Linked DNA regions of Homo sapiens: regions 2 and 3 are each linked to region 1. The links are contacts of gene promoters, found by promoter capture Hi-C in human tissues and cell types (Jung and others, 2019). All regions are on one chromosome and are shown on one strand. The core of a region is centred on a gene start or on the middle of the fragment in contact, and the rest is flanking DNA. Distances in the headings are between cores, read along the strand shown. Region 1 holds the start of ZSCAN5B (zinc finger and SCAN domain containing 5B). Region 2 has its middle 37 kb from the start of ZSCAN5A. Region 3 holds the start of LINC01864 (long intergenic non-protein coding RNA 1864).

Evidence for each region. The method cuts DNA at HindIII sites, captures the fragments that hold promoters and counts their contacts. A contact is called where the count stands out against the background at its distance.
Region 2: a contact is called between a fragment that was not itself captured here and the fragment with the promoter of ZSCAN5B in region 1, in 2 of the 25 tissues and cell types used here (H1 embryonic stem cells and pancreas).
Region 3: a contact is called between a fragment that was not itself captured here and the fragment with the promoter of ZSCAN5B in region 1, in 4 of the 25 tissues and cell types used here (liver, neural progenitor cells, spleen and 1 more).

Annotation. Positions count from the first base shown.
Region 1 is chr19:56,196,123-56,199,840 of GRCh38, forward strand. It overlaps ZSCAN5B (zinc finger and SCAN domain containing 5B), which reads right to left and starts at 1,661. Exons shown (of 5, transcript NM_001080456.5): 1 at 1,612-1,661. The HindIII fragment of the contact is 13,117 bases long and covers 1-3,718 here.
Region 2 is chr19:56,350,229-56,353,946 of GRCh38, forward strand. It overlaps a transcript of ZSCAN5A not described here. Among named protein-coding and RNA genes, the nearest start is that of ZSCAN5A, 37 kb to the left of the region's middle. The HindIII fragment of the contact is 3,268 bases long and covers 1-3,192 here.
Region 3 is chr19:56,065,462-56,069,179 of GRCh38, forward strand. It overlaps LINC01864 (long intergenic non-protein coding RNA 1864), which reads left to right and starts at 1,223. Exons shown (of 4, transcript NR_110741.1): 1 at 1,223-1,514. The HindIII fragment of the contact is 3,019 bases long and covers 471-3,489 here.

The sequences.
Region 1 (3,718 bases), core at 411-2,910:
CTCACTGCCACCTCTGCCTCCCGGGTTCAAGCGATTCTCCTGCCTCAGCCTCCCGAGTAGCTGGGATTATAGGCGTGAGCCACCCCTCTCGGCTAAATTTTGTATTTTTAGTAGAGATGGGGTCTCGCCATGTAGGCCAGGCTGGTCTCAAACTCCTGAACTCAAGTGATCCCTATGCCTCGGCCTCCCAGAGTGCTGGGATTACAGGTGTGAGCCACCGCACCTGGCCATTAAAACTTTTTTTTAAAAAAATAAAAGAAATAAAGTTAAATAGGTCTACTGCACAGCATGGTGACTATAGTTCACAGCAATGTACCGTATACTTGGAAATTGCTAAGGGAGTCGATTTCAAGTGTTGTCCAAAAATGATAAGACAGTGAGGTAGAGCCTATGGCAGTTTGCTCGATTTAGCCGTTGCACAATGCGTACACACCTTGACACACTATGCTGTGCACCGGACATATACACCATTATATATTTATATTTCTCAATTTGAAAGTAAATTAGGCCTGGTGCGATGGCTCACTCCTGTCACCCCAGTGCTCTGGGAGGCGGAGGTGGCAGGATCACTTCAGCCCAGCAGTGAACCGCGATTGTGCCACTGTGCTCCAGCCTGGGAGACACATCCAGCGGCCATCTCGTTTTGTTTATTTATTAAGTAAATCGATACATTTTTTAAAAGCATACAGATATGAGAAAAGGCAGCCTGAAATTCTGGGAATTAAAGAGGTTTTCCCGCCAGGTTCCCTAAGCGCCCCTGCTCAGAAAGCGGAGATCGAGGCTGAGGCGGGCAGATTGCTTGAGCCGAGGAGTTCGAGACCAGACTGGGCAAAGCAGCGAGACCACGTCTCTATAGTAAATAAAAAAATGCACTCGGGCGGTGTGGTGGTGTGCTCCTGCAGCCCCAGCTAGGTGGAGGCCGAGGAGGGCACATAGCTTGAGCCTGGGAGTTCCAGGCCAGCCTGGGAAATGAGCGAGACCCCGTCTCTGAAAAATAAAATGAAACAAAACCTAACCATGATGAGAAAGTTAACATTATTACTTTATTTTTCTCCTTTTTTTTTTTTTGAGACGGAGTTTTGCTTTGTTACCCAGGCTGGAGTGCAATGGCGCGACCTCGGCTCACTGCAACCTCTGCCTCCTGGGTTCAAATGACTCTCCTGACTCAGTCTCCCGAATAGCGGGTATTACCCTAACCTCTGCCTCCTGGGTTCAAACGACTCTCCTGACTCAGTCTCCTGAATAGCGGGTATTACGGGCGCCCGCCACCACGCCCGGCTAATTTTTGTATTTTTGTTAGAGTCGGGGTTTCACCATGTTGGTCAGACTGGTCTTGAACTCCTGATCCCGTGATCTGCCCACCTCGGCCTCCAGAGTAGCTGGGATTACAGGCGTGCGCCACTGGGCCCGACCGAGAAAGTTAATATTATTCCTAGTTTACAGAAGCACTTCATCGCCAGTCAGAGTTAATCATGGGGTGCAAAGGAGACCCGCTGCCTTCACAAAGTCTCCGAGAAAATAAATGCATGAGAAAATAAACCCAAACTTTCTGAAACCAACCCCCCGCATGCCAGCTCCGAAACCCCACAGCCATCGCCGCTGGACACTCACCTCCTTCCCGGCTTCTGCCTCCGACCTTCTCGGTCTGGGATGCGCTCTCCAACCGGCCTGGAGCTGAACTGCGTCTATTTATGGAGAAGCGGGACTCCAGGCCGCGTTTCCGGTTCCCTGCGCCGCGCCGTGATTGGTTTAGGGCCACAGAGTCCATTTTCGTAATCGGCGTTGATTACATTTCCCACTGAAACCCCACCCACAGGAAATTAATGTATTAAACGTGCCTACTGTGCAAATAATACAGGTTTTCCCGCTCTACTGAGTTGTCATATTGCTGAAGTATGTGGAGGCCTCAGAAAATATAGATCTGCAAGTTTTAACCACTTTGGGTCCCCTCATGCCACAGACAGTAATATCCTAACAAGTAAAGGACGTGTTAAGAGCTGGTTGACTTCGCTTATTAAAACAAAACGGAAAAAGAAAAAAAAAAGAAAAATTCAAAATAGAGTTGGTTGATTAATATCAAACCAGTGATTTAATCTCATTTTTAATCTCATTTGAGCGAAGCTTTCACACGCGAATTCCAAGATGTTGAAAATTGTGGACACTCGTTGATATGTAATGAATGTTTGTGATAATTTTTTACTTTTTTATTTTTTTCAAAATCTTGGAATTGGCATGTGAAAGCTTTGTTCAAACTAAACTAAATCACTGATTTGATATCAGCCTTATATAAAAGCAGTGGGAACCAGAGAAAGGCACATGGTCCCCACTCTGCATTCATTCCAGGACGGTGATAGGGTGGTTTATAGATACACTGAGGGTCCTACGGGGTTCCCTAGTTCTCAGCCCCCTCAGTTAGGGCTCTCAAGCAAGAAAAGCCTTAACGGTGGGTGTGAATTTTACTGTGTGGATCATGGAGTTAATGTGGAATGATAATTAAGTGCTAGGCAGGATTAGATTACAATTTGGGAAGTTCACACCATCAGTTGGATGACACTAATCCATTCAAGTAGTGACTCATTCATTTTAATTTCAGAGGAAACCTTCTCGTCTAACCTTTAGGACAAATTGGAGGGCTGTTAATTTTACACTGATTCTGGTTTAAATCCTTGGAAAATCTTAAGCCGCTTCACTCTGGGAACTTCAAACTTCTTGTGACTAGAACCTTCCTGATGTGTTGTTTTGAAGATGCAATAAGACTGGGTCAATAAAGTGCTCGATACAAGGTCATTTTGCCAAACAGTTGTGACAATTATTTTCTGGTGCATTTTCTCATACTTTGTGATATTTTCCCTTCTTAACCACTGAGGTGTTGACAATGGGTTGGAGTTAAGAATGGAATTAATGGCCGGGCGCGGAGGCTCACGCCTGTAATCCCAGCACTTTGGGAGGCCGAGGCGGGCGGATCACGAGGTCAGGAGATCGAGACCACCCTGGCTAACACGGTGAAACCCCGTCTCTACGAAAAATACAAAAAAGTAGCCAGGCGTGGTGGCAGGTGCCTGTAGTCCCAGCTACTCGGGAGGCTGAGACAGGAGAATGGCATGAACCCGGGAGGCGAAACTTGCAGTGAGCGGAGATCACACCACTGCACTCCAGCCTGGGCGACAGACCGAGACAGCGTCTCAAAAAAAAAAAAAAGGAATTATTCACTGGAATTAACTGGGAGCTGCCTAAACCACCATCTTCCTATCTGCTTCCCCCGAATCCTCCCCTCTGGAAACTCACAGTCTATTTCTGTGAAGTATGTTGTTGGTATTTTGGTAGGGATCGCATTGAATCTGTAGATGTCTATTAATAGTATGGTCTTTTTCACAATGTTGATTCTTCCCCCTACGAACATGTCTTCCCATTTTCTGGGGTCCGCTTTAATATTTTTCATTAGTGTTTAACAGTTTTCCTTGTGGAAATCTTTCACCTCCTTAGTTAAATTTACTTCCAGGGTTTTGGGGTGTCTTTTGCTCTTGTAAATGAGATTGCTTTCTTGATTTTTTTCTTGCCACTAGTTCGTTGTTGGTGTATAAAAACACTACTGATTTTTGCATATCGACTTAGTATCTGGCCACCTTACTGAATTGGTTTATCAATTCTAAGAGTTTTACTGGTGGAGGTTTCAGGGATTCTTATAGATGACATCATGTTGTTGGCAAAGAGAGACAAT
Region 2 (3,718 bases), core at 309-2,808, 150 kb after region 1:
CTAAGTTTGAAAAGACTTTTTACTAAAGGTTGGTAATATAATACACACTATGAAAAGGTTATAAAGGAAGAGATTTTATGTACGGAAGGATTTTGTATGGTAAATTCTTGTACTAAAGGGAAATAACCGGTTGTTTAAAGAAAGGATGTTTAGGACAAATCAAAAAGTGTAAAGGTGTTGTAAGAAGGTTTATAAAAGTCATAAAAGAATTTAGTAATTAAAGGAAAGGAATTGTCAAAATTAACGCTAAAGTTATTTTAGCCACCCAATAATGTCTTTCTCCCAATCATATTGCAAGTTGTAAAAATGGCCTAGGCCTAAAGTTATTCTCTAACGGCAGATTAAGGGGGAAATGTCCGCTTTTCTCTAGGAAAAAGTTACCGCTATATTAACGTTTCTGGTAATGTACACCGACATCTAGTGGAGGCAAGCCAGTATTGCAATCCATTGGTGTAACTAAAAGGTGTCAAACTCTACTGTCAGTTATGGTCTAACAGGGCCCCCCACTAACGGTGGTAATTTTAATAATTGTATCCTAACCCTACATTTTAAATCTTCTTGTAAAATTTATATTTTTTCACCTTAAATCAAATAAAGTTTAATATTTTAATATTTTATTAAATAATGTTTTATTTAATAAAACATTAAATAAAGTTTAATAGAAGCAATTAAACTTTAAATGGTGCTGTGAGCTGAGCCACACACAGACATGCCATTCTTCTGAGAACCTCAGATCAACCACAGGAGAAGGCCCAATTGCTGTCCCCCCCCAACCACACGCCCCTTTTCAGCAGACAGTACCCAGAAAGAATCATCATCTAACACCCCCTAACAGCAGTTAGGTTTACTTCTCTTTGAGGGGGGGATATTACAGGAGTTATTAAGAAATCATTTTAGGCATACAGTAAGGGTAAAGGTTCTTGGTGAAAATTTTCCTGTAATAAGAAATCTCTTTTCTAACCAAGCAATCTCTTTTCTAACCAAAAAGGCGGCTTCAAGGGCCGGGCTGACAAGCTTTGATATGCAAATGCTGGCCACTAGAAACTGGGTCCACTCAACATGGTGATTCCCACCGTCTTCTCCTTGTTACCACCTGTGCAAAGTGTGAAGGCCACCTCCAAGTAACACCATGTGTTCAAACCATCATGGCAACCCACATTTGCATATTAAAAGGCTATGGCGGGAGGGCCTGGTTTCTCCCAGGCTACATGAATAACACACCTGGTCAAGCCAATCCTTTGGGCCCTATGCAAACCAGATACTGCCTCCTCCAGCCTCCAGATATAAGGGACTGTCTTTCTGTTGCGCACAGGGTCTATCTCTGTTCCTTTCCCATGTCTCAGTACGGGGGAGCTGTTCTCTTCTTTCTTCCTTCTTACTTGCTATTAAACTTTTCACTCCTTAAAACTACTCCACATGTGTCCATGTCGTTAATCCTATCAGCACCAGACCAAAAAGCCTGGTAATCGTCCAGTCATCGGAGCTGTATCAAAATGAACTTGGGCTGCTCTGTCCCAATGTCTCCATCCTTTGCATCTTAACCTGTCGCAGAACAAGAAAAGTGGTGCCGCTAAGATTGCACAGGTGCAGCGAATACGAACCTGGGAAGACTGTGGTGTTTCTTTAGATGGCTGGTGGATCTATCTGGATTGAAGGGATTCCTTTTCCCAGCAATAATTTTACAGACCTGAGACGTTTGCAAGATGAAATTGTGTTGCGGGATGAAGATGTCATTACACTTTCTTACCCAAAGTCAGGTAGGGAAGTGGGACCCGAAACTCAGGAAGGGATGCGGTGAAGATACTGATGGAGTGCCTTCTTTATGCCCTGCGCTTGGGTATGCTTTGGTGGATAGTGTGGGGTTTTTTTGTTTGTTTGTTTCTTTGTTTTTGAGACGGAATCTCGCTCTGTCACCCAGGCTGGAGTGCAGTGGCACGATCTCAGCTCACTGCAAGCTCCGCCTCCTGGATTCACGCCATTCTCCTGCCTCAGCCTCCCAAGTAGCTGGGACTACAGGCGCCGATAGTGTGGTGTTTTAACAAAGCTTCTACTCAGAGAGACGGATTAAACCAGACAATTAAACATAATGCAAATGAATGTGATTACTGGGGCACTGTAGAGACAGAGAGAGACATGAGATCCCACAGAAGCTAAGGCAGATTTAAGTGATCATGCAGGATGGTTAGAAGGGACTGATTATTGAAAGAATTTCGGTGAAAAAATAAACATTTATCCTTAGATGCTGAGCGTGAATGTGAGACTGTTAGATGTAAAAGAAAAAATATTCTGACACTTGGGTAAATGGTGAGGAAGAATATTCAAGACAATTGCAACAGGGGAGAGAGACCCAACTCTGAATATAGCAATGATAGTTGGTTTTTTGTAGACAATTATCAAAGTAAGGCGGTCAGTGGGTGGGAAATTACAAAGAACAACTTGATTAGGTATCAGGAGCAGAATCCTTGCTAAAGGCAGGCCAAAGATTTAGACATTAAGAGTGGAACATGGGAAATCTGATCAGGTATCAAGGATGGGGGGATTCTCATTACCCTTGTTGAAACTGGGTGCAACACAGTTTCAACACAGATGTCCAAAGTCCAGGCCTAGTCAGGAAGAGGACTCAGGGAAGCCCAAGTCAAGTCTGGTCGAGGAGAAGGTCTTTGCCAGATGGCAGTGTTTCGATCTATTACACTACAGACATTGTGGGCCACATAATACATTTTCAGGGGGAAGAGGGCTGTCCTGTGCATTGTAGGATGTTTAGCTGCATCCCTGGCCCCTGCCCACTGGAGTCAGTAGCATACTCAAGTGTGATAACTCAAAATGTCTGCAGTCACTGTTAATTTTCCCTTGAGGTGGACACAGTTTACCCCAGCTGAGAACCGCATGGATGAGGAGAAGGCACATACATATGCCTGAGGTTTCAGGCAAAGAATAGTAGACATGTGTTGGTGTCATGCATTGAGGCAGAGATCGCTGGTGGAGAAGCACATACAGGGAAGCTGGGATTATCGAGTGTAACGGATACTACAGTGTAACTAGAGAAAGAATATGAAAGGTGGGAAAATGGGAGTGAAAATATTGTAATATTTAGCAAGTGCATGTGTGCAGTGGTTCAATGGTCTATTCTGTGCATTAAGACTATTTGGTGCCATTGTTTTACTGGGCTGAGCTTATTTCACTTAACATAATTTCTTCCAGTTCCCTCCCTCCATGTTGGCTGCACATGACAGTTTTGCTCTTTTTAAAATGATATTGAGGCCGGGCGCGGTGGCTCACGCCTGTAATCCCAGCATTTTGGGAGGCCGAGGCGGGCGAATCAGGAGGTCAGGAGGTCAGGAGATCGAGACCATCCTGGCTAACGGCGGTGAAACCCCGTCTCTACTAAAAAAAAATACAAAAAATTAGCTGCGCGTGGTGGCAGGCACCTGTAGTCCCAGCTACTCGGAAGGCTGAGGCAGGAGAATGGCATGAACCCGGGAGGCAGAGCTTGCAGTGAACCGAGATCGTGCCACTGCACTCCAGCCTGGGTGACAGAGCGAGACTCTGTCTCAAAAAATAAAAATAAAATAAAAAATAAATAAATAAATAAATAAAATGATATTGAGCAGTGGGAGCAAGAATATTAGGGCATCCAACAGCCCAAAGGTGGAAGCAGCCCACATGTCCATCGACAGATGAACAGATAAACAGAATGTACTCTATACAAACAATGGAA
Region 3 (3,718 bases), core at 730-3,229, 130 kb before region 1:
ACGGGGGTTGGTGTTTTTTTTTTTTTTTTTTTTTTTTTTTTTTTTTGAGACAGTTTTGCTCTTGTCACCCAGGCTGGGTTGCAATGGTACAATCTAGGCTCGCTGCAACCTCCGCCTCCCGGGTTCAAGCAATTCTCATGCCTCAGCCTCCTGAGTAGTGGGGACTACAGGTACCCGCCACCACGCCTGGCTAGTTTTTGTATTTTTAGTAGCGATGGGGTTTCTCCATGTTGGCCAGGCTGGTCTCGAACTCCTGACCTCAGTTGATCCACCCGCCTTATCCTCCCAAAGCACTGGGATTACAGGTGTGAGTGACCATACCCAGCCTGGCCTCAGAGCTTTGAATAATAGGGATGATACCTTGATTTCTACCCAACTCCTTGTTTCTTATTCTAAATTCCTAAACGTAGAGGATGAAGTAATGATGAGTCTGTATAAACCCTATAACCCTATGTGCTGGCCGCTGCCCTCAGGCTGATAGTGCAGGACAAAGATCCCTGTTCTCCTAAAATGTATTACCTTCTAATGAAGGACAAATGCATGAATTGCAGCTGTTCTCACAGCTAAAATGGCAGGTTCGCAAGAGACTAGGACTATTCTATTTTTCTAGACTAGCTATCTTTGAGGTCTGAGAAAAACTTTTTTCTGCACTGCTGGTTTTTCGTCAAGTTTGGGACATGACATACCATGAAAATGTACCCTTCCTACATAGTTTTTCGTTTTGTCTTGTTGTTTGTTTTTAACATTTGTACCACGGGGAGGGAAGAGCATCAGGAAGGCAACGGACCCGGTCCTGGAGGGCAACCGTGGGGAGTCCCAGGCCCCCGCTGCCTGGTGCATCACATCGTGGGTAGGACAGGTGGGAGCGCTGTCTCCCTGCTGATCTGGGCTCTTATCTCTATGAGGAAGGACCCTTTCCTCACCCGTGAGTCAAACGATAGAGAATTCACCTCCACCTGCCAGCCACGCTGTAGCTGGGGTGTGTGTGGAGCCGCACAAACTCTGATGCTTTGAGCTGCATGGCACAGAACGTCCACCTGAGATCACTGCGTAGAAGCTTCCTGGGAAGGCAATTCCAGGGTCAGTGAACCCCGCGGGACGCCAGCTCCCTGGTTGAGTTTCCCCTGATGGCCGCTGGGTGGCAGCAGAGCGTCATCTTCCCTGAGACCCTCCCGGGAGCAGGGCGGGCTCCTCCCCGCATCCCCACTGTGGATTTTCTCACCGCAGGCACTGCTGACGGTGGGACCGGCCACTTCCACATCGGGGTCCCGCCTGTGGGCTGTAGGGTGTTCAGTGACGTCCCTGCTTTTACCTGCCAGGTGCCTTCCCTCCCGCAGTTGTGACAACCAAGAAAGTCTTCAGACACAGCCGGATGTTACCCGGGGCACCAGCCTGAGACCCGCTGGTCCACGGGAAGCAGGGAGCCCTCCCTCACCAGCACACCCAGCGGCCTCCCCTTCCCCTCGCCGGACGCGACTGGCTCACAGGAAATCCGTGTCAGCCCTGCTCAGAAGGTATCAGCCACTTGTTGGTTCTATTGGAGGTGACAGCTGCTTAGCAGACACCCAAGAATGTAGGTTTGTTCTTTAGCTTTATTCCCCATTGTCAAAATGGAATCAACCAAGATTATCTGGAGGCCCAGGTGTAAAATGAAAATGTGGGTGCTTTGTTCAAAAATTAAGAATTTCAAGATGACTGTGAGTCACTATACTGAGTGCAAAGCCATTCTGAGCCGGGGTCCTGGATGAATGACCCAAGCAGCTGGCCTCCATTGCAGCTGACTGGACCAGGAGCTAGCGTTTGAAGAACAGCCAGTCTTTAAGCTGCCTAATGACCTGTAGGCCGCCTGTGACCAAGGTAAGAGATGAAGTAGGTATCCTTGTTCACAACAGCCAAAAGGTGCAGACAACCCACGTGTCTATCAGCAGATGAATGGGTAAACAAAATGTGGTCTATCCACACAATGAAATATTATTCAGCCATGAAAAAAAGAATGCAGGCTGGGTACAGTGGTTCATGCCTGTAATCCCAGCACTTAGGGAGGCTGAGTTGGGAGGCTCACTTGAACCCAGGAATTTGAGACCAGCCTGTGCAACATGGCGAAACCCCGTCACTACTAGAAATACTAAAAATTAAATAGGTATGGCGGTACAAGCCTATAGTCTCAGCCCGTTGGGAGGCTGAGGTGGGAGGATCACTTGAGCCTGGGAGGTCAAGGCTGCAGTGAACCGAGATTGTACCACTGCAGTCTCCAGCTTGGGTGACAGAGTGAAACCCTGTCTCATTAAAAAAAAAAAAAAAACAACAGGTGCAGTGGCTCATTCCTGTACTTCTAGCACTTTGGGAGGCTGCAGCAGGCAGGTCACCTGAGGTCAGGGGTTCAAGTCCAGCCTGGCCAACATAGTGAAACCTCGTCTCTACTAAAAATACAAAAATTAGCCCAGGGTAATAGCGTGTACCTGTAATCCCAGGTACGCAGGAGGCTGAGGCAGGAGAATCACTTGAACCCAGGAGGCGGAGGTTGCAGTGAGCCGAGATGGCACCACTGCACTCCAGCCTGGGCAACAAAGTAAGACTCCATCTCAATTTAAAAAAAAAAGGAATAAAGGAATATAGTAGCGATACGTGCTACAACATGGATCAACCTCATAAACATTATCCACTGTAAAGAAGCCAGATACAAAAGGCCACTTGTATGATTCCATTGATATGAAATGACCAGAAGAGGGAAATCCACAGAGACACAAGATGAGAGTTTGCCCAGGGCTGGGAGAGGAGCAGGGAATGAGTGACTCTTCCTGGCACGGGGTTTCCTTTTGGAGTGATAGACGTACAACTATGTGAATATACTAAAGCATTATTTAATTGTACACCTTAAAATGGGTGAATTCCATGGTTTGTAAATTATTTTTTAAAAAGCAAAAAATGATGAACCAATATAGTTGCCTCCATCTGAGATCTGATTCAGAATTCCTGAGGAAATAAAGCAGTTAAAAGGCAGGAAATTAGGCTGGAAATTTATTAGTGAAAGTGGAAGATGTGGTTTGCAGAGTGGAGAGAGCTCAGGGCTGTACTTTTATGCAGGGGGTGTTATCAGCACAGTATCCAGGGCTTGTGAAGTTTTCATTAGCCTGAAAATATCTTAGAAACCTGGCAGGGTGTGGTGGCTCACGCCTATAATCCCAGCAATTTGGGAGGCCAAGGTGGGTGGGTCACTTGAGGTCAGGAGTTCAAGATCAGCCTGGCCAATGTGGTGAAACCCCATCTGTATTAAAAACAAAAAATTTAGCTGGGTATGGTGGCAGGCGCCTGTAATCCCAGCTGCTTGGGAAGCTGAGGCACAAGTATCACTTGAACCCAGGAGACAGAGGTTGCAGTGAGCCAAGATCATGCCACTGCACTCCAGCCTGGGCAACAGAGTGAGACTGTCTCAACTGGGGAGAGAGCAAGCTTCAGGTTCCTGAGCCCCACGGCCAATTCTGGTATGGCGGGACCCAGGTGAAGCCTGGGAATATGAATTTTAAAAAGCTTTCCTAAGCCATTCTGATGCAAGTGCTCTTCAGATCACACTCTCAAAGCCAGAACTGCAAAAACGAAGCTCTGAGTGTACCACAAGTGTTGGTCAGAGAGAATACGGGCTGGAGGGTGAGGACCCTGTTTGATGGAGACAGAAAAGAGAAGGAAACTCTGGAGGAGAAGAGCGAAGACAAGTCCTGAC